3 separate regions of the Homo sapiens genome follow, and all the other regions are linked to region 2. Evidence: promoter capture Hi-C in 16 types of primary human blood cells and fetal thymus (Javierre and others, 2016). All regions are on one chromosome and are shown on one strand. The core of a region is centred on a gene start or on the middle of the fragment in contact, and the rest is flanking DNA. Distances in the headings are between cores, read along the strand shown.

Region 1 (3,323 bases), core at 214-2,713, 890 kb after region 2:
CAGTCCATTTTCTTCAAAGTTTCCTGAATCAAATAGTCTTTTCCATTGGCTAACTTTTCCTTAGAAGTAATATAACCACTTTAGAAATGCTCTATTCTCTTGCTTGATTTTGGAAAATATAATTATTTTATTCTAAATTTCATCACTTTTAATTGCTTCTGGTCTAGCAGCATTTTTTTCCTCACTGAACTTCACAGTGTATTCCTTTTTGAGCATCTGAATAATCCATTAAATAGTTTTTGAATGTACCTTTCCCTTTTGTTGGAAGCATTTGAGAGATGAAAGTATCATACATGGAATCTACACATTATTTCAGTGCTAAACCATTTTATACGAAGTGTTATTGGTGGTTTTGTGTAGATATTTTACCAAATACAGAGATCAGATCCTCCCTACTTCTCTGCTTTTTAAAATAGTCTAATTGTCAGTAAACTGTTCTTTAGCAGGGCAATGAGAAATTGTAATACACATTCAGTAGAATGCTATTTCATAATGAAAGCTGGAAAACAAAAACACAAACACACTCAGGAAGTGAGACCCAGGGAGACCTGGAATCTACTTCCACCTCTGACACTAATGTTAGGGAAGTTCTTTAACATCTCTGGACCTCAGGTTCCTAACTTCACAAGAAGAAAGCCAGACTAGATGCTCCCTGGGGTTCCCTCTAGCTCAAACATTCACTTTGCTTAAGGCACAATCAAACACCACTCGCACTCTCAGCTCATGCAGCCCCAGGGTACTCTTTGACAGCTAGAAATTACAAAGCCTTGACAGAACTCTTCATCCATTACTCTGATTCTACTGGTCTGGAGAACCTCAAATGTCTACGTGTATTCCGCCCTGATCTGGGGTTACCACAATTCTATGAAGCTTAAACAACCCCTCAAACATGCATGCAAGATGCATCTTTTAAAAATGATAAGTCTGTCTTATAACAGCAACAAAAAAATTGCACTGTCACTTTAGCAGAGACATATGAACCACAGCACCTGTCGATGGGATGTAGCAGGGGGTAAACCTGGTAGAAGAAAGTGATCCTGGGATTCACATAGGGGAGCCTCTCATTATCCCAGGAGGAATTTATAGCAGAGAGCCTTATGCAAAAGCCTCCTGTTAGTGAATAACTATGAACCCATGAAAAGGAATATGATTTATTTTTACAGTGGACTCTCACTTTGTGTTAGAGCATGGGTTTGCCTGTGATGAATCTCACACCAAGTTATGGAATTACTGAAATACTGAGAACACCACAGCACAATCTCTCACCTCAAGACTTTCCCACAGCAAGTATCCTGAACACAGTGACAAAAGGAAACACTCTGGAATGAGAGAGTGAGGGAGACACAAGGAGACCTACTTTTAAAAGACCATTAACCACAGAACCCTGAGGGTAAGGGAAAAGAAACAGGAAGGTAATCAGGTTCAAAAAAGAAACAAGCCCATTTTCCATTTCTTTTAAGAGAAATTTAAATAGAAGTAAATGATGGAAAAATAGCAGCTTCCAAGGTTAGACTCTGATATAGTTTGGATGTCTGTCCCTTCCAAATCTCATGTTGAAATGTGATCCCCAATGTTGGAGGTGAGGCCTGGTGGGAAGTGTTTGGGTCATAGGGGCAGATCCCTCATGAATAACTCAGTGTCTTCTCCAGGATAATGAGTGAGTTCTTGCTCTATTAATTCAGGTGAGAGATCTGGTTGTTAAAAAGAGCCTTGTATTGGTGTAATATTTTAATATTTGTGTGTATTACTGTACATATTTTCCCAGAGATCAGATCTTCTCTACTTTTCTGCTTTTTAAAATAGTCTAATTGCCAGTAAACTGTTCTTTAGAAGGACAATGAGAAATTGTGATGCACATTCAGTAGAATGCTATTTCATAATGGAGGCTGGAAAACAAAAGTAAAAGCAAAAGCACACTCAACTAAGACCCACGGAGACATGGGATCTACTTTCACCTCTGACACTAACTTTAGGGAAGTCCTCTCTTCTCTTTCGCTCCCTCTTTTACCATGTGACATGCATGCTCCCCCTTCACCTTCTCCTGATTGGAAGCTTCTTGAGGCCCCCACCAGAAGCAGATGCTGGTGTCATGCTTCTTGTACAGCCTGCAGATCCTGGAGCCAACTGAATCTCTTTTCTTTGTAAATTACTTAGTCTCATGAATTCCTTTATAGCAACACAAATGAGACTTACACAGACTCCTTATTGTATGTAACATGCACATACTTTATAATATATAATACCATTGTGACCTGTTGTAGTTGCCTGGTTGCTATGGGAATATGCTGAGCTTAAGTTTTGTGTAAGCACAGAAGAAGATATACAGGTTATATAGTAAAGAATAAAGTTCAGTTTTTAACTAATTGTTCTTTCACTATTTCAATAATTATTTTAAAAATGTTTCTCCATTTTTGTTATATATTTTTTTTTTCCAAGGGAAAACCATGTTGAGTTCTGGGATAATCATAGGAATTGAAAAAGGGAGGTCATTTTATTCACAGTACATTTCATCGCCTCTCCCCTGGATTCCTGTTATAGCCTCCTAAGGGGTCCCCCTGCTTCTTCTCTGGCCCCCAATTCTCAGTATAATAGCTGGGGTGGTCTTACTAAAACATAAACCAGCTCCTGTGCTGCCTTGTTCAAAATCTTCTAGAGCTTTCTATCTCACTCAGATCAATGGTAAAGGACTCAGGGTATCCCTCAAGGCCCCACGTCGTCTATGACTTCATTATCAGCCCTCCACTCCTCCCCATTCAGGGCATTGGTACTTGCTCTTGTCTCTGCCTGAAGAGTTCTTCCCTCAAATATCTTCTTGGCTCTGTCTCTCATATTCTTCAGTCAAATGTCTTCTTTTCAGGGAGGCCTTCCTTGATTACCCTATTTAAACTGTAAATCACCCCCTCCCCTTTCTCAGAACTTCCTGAACCAGTTTCTTGCTCTATTTTCCTCCACAGTACTTATCACCACCCAATATATGATATATTTCACTTACTATATGTCTCTCCCTGTAAGGATCATTTGCTTTTTGTTCAATGCAACATCTCCAGTCCCTAGACATATAAGTGGTGCTCAGGAAATATTGCTGAAATAATAAGTGTATTTAACTTATTTCATAGACATTAACTAAAAAATAAGTTATTTAAAAAATAACTACTGGGAAATTAGGTTAGCATATGTTAAAACCAAGAGATTTATTCATGGCCTAGATCATAGCCATAAAGCAATACATTTGAAAACCCAAACTGGTTTTTCTTACACAGATACACATATATGAATTTGTACATACACCTATAACAGAAATTGGTCTTTAAAAAAATTGTGGT
Region 2 (3,337 bases), core at 368-2,867:
GGCTTTGGACTTCTAAAGATACCCTGATTCCCCTTTCCCACCATTTATAGATTCGAAAGTAAAAATTTACCTGGCTATATACAAGCATTTAAACCTTGATCTTAAATAGAGGGAGCTTATAGGAAAGTCAACTATATTTTAGAAATATGAAGCTAGTTTTTATATATATATTCATTTAACAAACTTGTGTTGAGCTTCTATCACTGCATCTCTGCGGTATGGCCCTTCATTGATAATAAATCACTAACCTGGTTTCCTTTGTTTATGTGAGGAGAAGAGAAAGGAAGAGAGGAAAAACAGTTACCTGTAATACAATTTTTGTCCAAGTATGACTGCTAACAATTATCTCTAAAAATAATATAATCCATAAAAGAAGACTTCATTGAAGGGAGGAAGGGGGCTTTTGAGCCCAGACAAAATATATGCTCAAATATGTAATTTTTAAAAGAAATATGCTACGCAGCTTATATTCTGTATATGTTAAATTTCTCATGAAGCCCAATGAACGATGCCTGTGTATAATTGTGTATTGTATTGTTTGCTTTACAGGCTTTTCCATAACCGTTCACACACACACACACACACACACACACACAACCAGGATTCGCCAGAGAGATATATAACAACTAAATTATTTAAAGCAGGAATTCTATAGGTGTTGGCATATGGAACCTTTCGGTCCTCAGAAGTTCCATTCACAGACTGCATTAACATTCCATAGGACACAAAAGCGCATGCCATGACAAAGACCTTCAAGTACAAACATACAAAGACACGCTTCTAAAAACGCCCCTAAAGCCAAGTTCACAGCTGGCACTTGTGGCACACACAAGCCACTGCTGAGACAGCTGTCACAGGCCAATCACACACACCCAAGAGTGCCAGCGTGCTACCTAAGGAAGACAAGCTGATGATCAGCGCACAAATCCCCAACCCAATAAAGAAAAGCCCTAAATCCCCACCCTGGAAAGCACAATGCCTGCACCACCCAGAAAACTCCTTAAAAAAATGAAAGATCGGAGGTTTAGAAGCAACTAAACACTAGTTTACAGCAATACAGTAAAAGGGGAGTTTTATTTGGACATTCACGAGAAAGGAGCCACAATATTCAATCCTCGCGGAAGTATTATCAGCTAGCACAAGGCTTTGTCCCCCAACTGGAAAAAGGGGAAAGGAGGAGGGCGAGGAGAGATGCAGACCCTAAGACCCTGCAGCACCTCCCTCTCGGGCAGTGCACTGGGGCTGCGGCGAACTCCGCTTCCCAGGCCCCCTCCCACCCCGTGCTAGCCACCGCCTCCCACCGCAGGCCCGGTTGCCTCGGGCTCTCCTACCTTGGCTTTGCCGGCCTCCAGCTTCTTCTGTCTCTCCTCGTCCTCCATGGCCTCTGCAAGGAAGGCAGGGGAAAACAGGGGTTGAGGGGTGGTTGGGGATAGAAAGGAAAGGTCGATTTGGACGGAGGTGGGACGGCAAGCTCCACGGCCTAGAGAGCCGATTCGGTCCGGCGCTCCCCCGCCCGAAGTGGAAGCAGTCTCCGCGCTCACTGGCGGATCGTCCTCAGCCGCACGGGAAGCGCCGTCACCGCCGCCGCCGCCGCCATCTTCGTCTCCACGTAAACACACGGCGAGGCGGGAGGGGCTGGAACGTCTGTCCGCGCAGCCGCCTCGTGGGCAGGTGCTCCTGGGGTGCCGCCCCGGCCCAGCCCTCCGGGGTCAACCCTTGCCAGGCCTGGGACCTGCCTCCTACCAGCGAGGATCCCGCCGTAGAGAGCGCCCTTCCCGCACATCAACGGCTCACAGGTGGCGGCCGAGCTGAGGGGTAGGAGAGACGGAGTGTGCCAGAGGCTCCTGGCCTGACCCCCACCCTCCGTCCGAGGAATCCACTGCTATTAAAACATGAGTTTTTTTTTTCCTTCAGGTTACAAAACTAACACACCTAATGGTGAAATTGGCGAACACCTACAAGCTCCAACGGAAAAGTTCCGGTGGGGGGTGGTGGGGGGGCGGACGCCAGGTTTTCTACCTACATTAACTGCTTGACTCAAGAATTATGAGAGCAGCTAATTGCTCTTATTACTTCCTTAGCCTGAAAAGTCCCTCCCTCTTCCCTCCACTGGTTCCCACTCAATCTCCGGTTCATCCTTATAGTCCCATCGCACACGCTGCCTCCAAATGGCTTTTCTGACCTCTTGTTCCCTCCACGGCAACCGAGACACATCCAGTCAAAACTTAGTCCCCTCCCCCGACTCTTTGGGGCTTCCCTTTAACAGTAGTGTTCTGAAAGGAGCCTGAGCTTTAGAACCTCGGTTAGGGACAATGCCAGACTACACTAACTTTCTAGCGTTAATGACAAGTTACCTATCCTCCCTGAGCCTACCTGGAATTTTTGGAAGGGTTGTTAATATATGTGACTGCCCTGACATATTAAAACGTCCTGAATAATGTCAGCTTTATTTCTCCTTGGACTTCCTTTAAGTACCCTGCACCATATTTTAATAATTTGTGTGCGTCTTAGTTCAGCTCATACTCCCAGCTCCTTGATGACAGAGACTCATCATAAGTCTTGCTCATCTTGGCTTTACTAAAATGACCAGCACAGAGCTCTGCACTCAATAAACGCTTTTTGGATTGAATTGAGCAGTGTTTATAAATTTAACATTACTATCTTTCCTTGTTTCCCCGACATGTGCTCCCTCAGTCCTTTGTGTTCGTCTCCCTGCCCTCCAATGCTCACATCCATTCCTGGAGTGAACTACACATTTTAATGTCTCTGGTTGATTACTCAGATTTATCATGTTTCTCCGTTGCTTTGAGCTAGGTTGGACTGAAAAACTAGCAGTTGTGAACAAAAAATAGGCTAAAATGAGTTCAAGCGTAGAAGTGGTGTTAAGTGAAAAATTGAGGTTAAAAAACAAAAAAGGAGATAATAAAGACCTTAAGTCTACCACAAACTGAAGATGAGTTTTAAATAGCCCTCATTTAGAAATCTTAGCTTTAAAAAAGATTTTTTTCTTAAGCTCCGTAATGCATACATTCTGCCAACTTCTAACAGCCAAGTGCATATTGTCCTGTTATCTCAACCTGAATTAGGAACCAGGTAAAATTAGACATTTTATCATAGGGATGAAAGAATTGAGGCAATAAGTGATTTACTTAGTCACCCATCAAATTAAGAGTAAGGACTAGAACTAAGTGTTCTAATAGTGCAGTGATTTAAATACTGCCTGGATTGAGGGATTATGAGTGTAGATGCTGATTGCCTAGGAGGGGGAAGCCCCAGGGTATCCAAAGCTATTCCTGTTTGTTAAAGGATACTGCTTTCTCGGTGACTAAATAAGTCA
Region 3 (3,252 bases), core at 256-2,755, 520 kb before region 2:
AATCTCGGCTCAACCTCCGCCTCCGGGTTCAAGTGATTCTCCTGCCTCAACCTCCCTGGTAGCTAGGATTACAGGCATGTGTCACCATGCCTGGCTAATTTTTTTGTATTTTTAGTAGAAATGGGTTTCATCATGTTGGCCAGGCTGGTTTCGAACTCCTGACCTCAGGTGATCCACCTGCCTTGGCCTCCCAAAGTGCTGGGATTAAAAGCATGAGCCATCATGCCCAGCCTGAAATACATATACAGATATATATATTTAAAAACTGAATCAGCCTTTTGTCAGCTTTATGACCTAGGAATGTCTTTCTCAAGGATCTGGGAAATGTAAACATTACCAGATAGCATACCTATCTTCCAGTTTCTGTGGGAGGGTAACAGCCTAATCTTAATGAGTACCTTGCACCAAGCTATAAAAGTAACTCCTGTTTCCACACTCCCCCACCCCCGAAAAGTTGATATCTTAGATAACACAAGTGGTCACATCAATTATCAGGTAAAGTTAGAATGAACTGTGTGACCAGTGGTGCTGTCAAGTTCTCTTAGTTGAGGACTATTTATCTCGAAAACATACATGTAATGGGCTGTACCTGCTTGGCTGTACAAAATGGTGAAATTTCCTTCTGTCTTTGTGATCTCTTAGCAAAGTGCCTGTGATGTGCATCACATTCTCATTTAATTTTTATTCAATAATAAAGCTTATCTTTCTCTACTGCCTTCATGGAGAGGATTTCTGGGTTGAGAGAAGATTTTGTTTTTTAAATTATATTTCCCCAACAGCACCTTCACCCTTTATTCTAAAACTGCTGGCTGGGTGTGGTGGCTTATGCCTGTAATCACAACCCTTTGGGAGGCCAAGGTCGGAGGACTGCTTGAGGCCAGGAGTTTGAGAACTAGCCTAAGCAATATAGTGAGACCCCATCTCTTAAAAAAAAATAGCTGGGCATGGTAGTGCACAACTGTGGTCCCAGCTACTCAGGAGGCTGAGGTAGGAGGATCACTTGAGCCTGGGAGGTGGAGGCTGCAGTGAGCAGTGATCACAACAGTGCACTCCAGCCCGGGTGACAGTGCAAGAACCTGTTTCAAAAAAAAAATAAAATTGCTGTCTTTTTCACTCACACCTTCACTATTCATGGGGAGAAGTGTGTAAGGTATAACAGTCTTTTTGTAATAAACCTCCCCACTTCCACTCTTCTAATCAGAAGTAGAGATGATGTTATGAGAAGTTGAGATTAAGGTTGTAGCTTTTCTTTTTTCTTTTTTTTGAGACCGAGTCTCACTCTGTCGGCCCAGACTGGAGTACAACGGTGCGATCTTGGCTCACTGCAACCTCCCCACTGCCCAGGTTCAAGTGATTCTCCTGCCTCAGCCTCCTGAGTAACTGGGATTACAGGGATGTGCCACCACGCCGGGCTAATTTTTGTATTTTTAGTAGAGACGAGGTTTCACCATGTTGACCAGGCTAGTCTTGAACTCCAGGCCTCAGGTGATCCCCCAACCTGGCCTCCCAAGGTGGGGGATTACAGGCATGAGCCACCATGCCTGGCAGATTGTAGCTTTTTTGTTTACAGTTTGGTAATTACTTCATGCCAGTCTGTCATGTTTAATAAACAACACAGGTTAGTGATTGCTTTTTTTCTTTTTTTTTTTGAGATGGAGTTTCCCTCTTGTCATCCAGGCTAGAGTGCAATGGCGTGATCTTGGCTCACTGCAACCTCCACCTCCCAGATTCAAGTAATTCTCCTGCCTCAGCCTCTGGAGTAGCTGGGATTACAGGCAGCGGCCACCACAGCCAGCTAATTTTTGTATTTTTAGTAGAGATGGGGTTTCACCATGTTGGCCAGGCTGGTCTCAAACTCCTGACCTCAGGTGATCCACCCGCCTCGGCCTCTCAAAGTGCCAGGATTACAGGCATGAGCCACTGCACCCAGCCAATTGCCTCTTCTTCAACAGAAAAGAAAGAAAATGAAACTATGTAAGTTCAGCCATGTGCAGGGATGCTTTAGAAATAACATTTAGATTTTTAATTTGTATTAGATTCTTTGGACCTAGTACTGTATTTCTCACAGTAGCATTTACCCAATTTCTTTCGGATCCTACGTATGGCAGTTCAGCAGTGACATTTCCATGGTATTTTCTTAACTTCTTTAGGCCTCATTTTTCCTATCTGTAGAATGAGGGAGTTAGATTAGATGGTCTCTAAATCCGTACATCTACAAAGAATATGAATCTTTGAAAAATTGTTTTCTTTATCTGGATCACAAGCCACTATCAATCTATGAGAATCTGCACTGGAGTTGAAGAAACAAGCTTTATTCACAAAATCAAATTTTATTTGCCTAGAAATGTTCGGCTTACAAAACCTGAAATGAACTCTTTGGAAGCTCCTCTATGGCATTATTCTGATGCTCAGGGCATCAACATGCTGGGACACTCCCTTGCCTAACCTCTGTGCCCAGGGGCCCTGCCTGAGGACGCTGGCAGGATTCTCTAGCTTGCTCTGAAAAACGATGCCTTTGCTGAAGCCACTCTTCTGGTTGTCCTTTTATGGCCTGTCCCCATTTCAGTGATTCCCCTGCAAGCTGAAGCATGCAGCAGTTAGACCAGTTTTTCCATTCTTCTTAATTCCCAAGGCCCTTTCCTAGGCTTTCATAATGCAAGACACAAGGACAGATGATTATTATTTCTAGGCTTCGGATATTTGTGCAGAGGACTAGAGTTGAGAAAGGGAGCCTTGACTGTGGTAGGCCTGAATGTGTTCTAAGTTTGGACATGACCTCAGAGTGAGCACTGAGGCTGGCCCACAGGCCAGAAACCCACAAAAATATGGCTGTCCATCTTGCCCACCTGCCTAACAGTTTGTCCCATAAAAGCATTAAATTAGGAGACAGAAATCAACTAGGTGCAGAGTTTTGTTACTGCATTGCACGTCTCCTGAGTTCTCAAATCCGTATTTTCAATTATCTAATGGATATTCAAGTCCAGGAGATGGCTCACAGTCCTCACATTACAAAACAGAACACACACCTCACATCACATGCAAATCTCCACCTAGCCTTGTTTACTAACTGGGAGATTTTTAAATTATAAGAATCAAGTAGGATCTTTGCCCACGTATTTTTTTAAGAGTTTTTCACCTACCAAAAAGTTGTACTCAATGTCTTCCTTAATTCATCCTCCTCACTCAGTCTCTATTTACAACTGGTTATTAAATTCTGTTGACTTTATCTCCTATATATCTATTTTTTAAAGA

The links. Contacts are between HindIII fragments. The CHiCAGO score rates a contact against its expected background, and 5 or more counts as called.
Region 1: a contact is called between a fragment that was not itself captured here and the fragment with the promoter of AKAP9 in region 2, in 1 of 17 cell types (monocytes). The highest score is 6.9, in monocytes.
Region 3: a fragment that was not itself captured here is called in contact with the fragment with the promoter of AKAP9 in region 2 in 1 of 17 cell types (erythroblasts); the score reaches 5.1 in erythroblasts.

What each region holds. Positions count from the first base shown.
Region 1 is chr7:91,049,519-91,052,841 of GRCh38, reverse strand. The region is part of intron 11 of CDK14 (cyclin dependent kinase 14); the gene reads right to left. Among named protein-coding and RNA genes, the nearest start is that of FZD1, 210 kb to the left of the region's middle. RefSeq lists an enhancer at 1,832-1,891. The HindIII fragment of the contact is 1,182 bases long and covers 873-2,054 here.
Region 2 is chr7:91,939,142-91,942,478 of GRCh38, reverse strand. It overlaps AKAP9 (A-kinase anchoring protein 9), which reads right to left and starts at 1,617. Exons shown (of 50, transcript NM_005751.5): 1 at 1,332-1,617. The coding sequence starts at 1,379. It overlaps LOC124901698 (a long non-coding RNA gene), which reads left to right and starts at 1,628. Exons shown (of 2, transcript XR_007060431.1): 1 at 1,628-1,815; 2 at 1,915-2,629. RefSeq lists enhancers at 1,327-1,476, 1,515-2,076 and a silencer at 1,677-1,786. The HindIII fragment of the contact is 23,233 bases long and covers 1-3,337 here.
Region 3 is chr7:92,464,016-92,467,267 of GRCh38, reverse strand. It overlaps a transcript of GATAD1 not described here. Among named protein-coding and RNA genes, the nearest start is that of ERVW-1, 12 kb to the left of the region's middle. The HindIII fragment of the contact is 1,612 bases long and covers 700-2,311 here.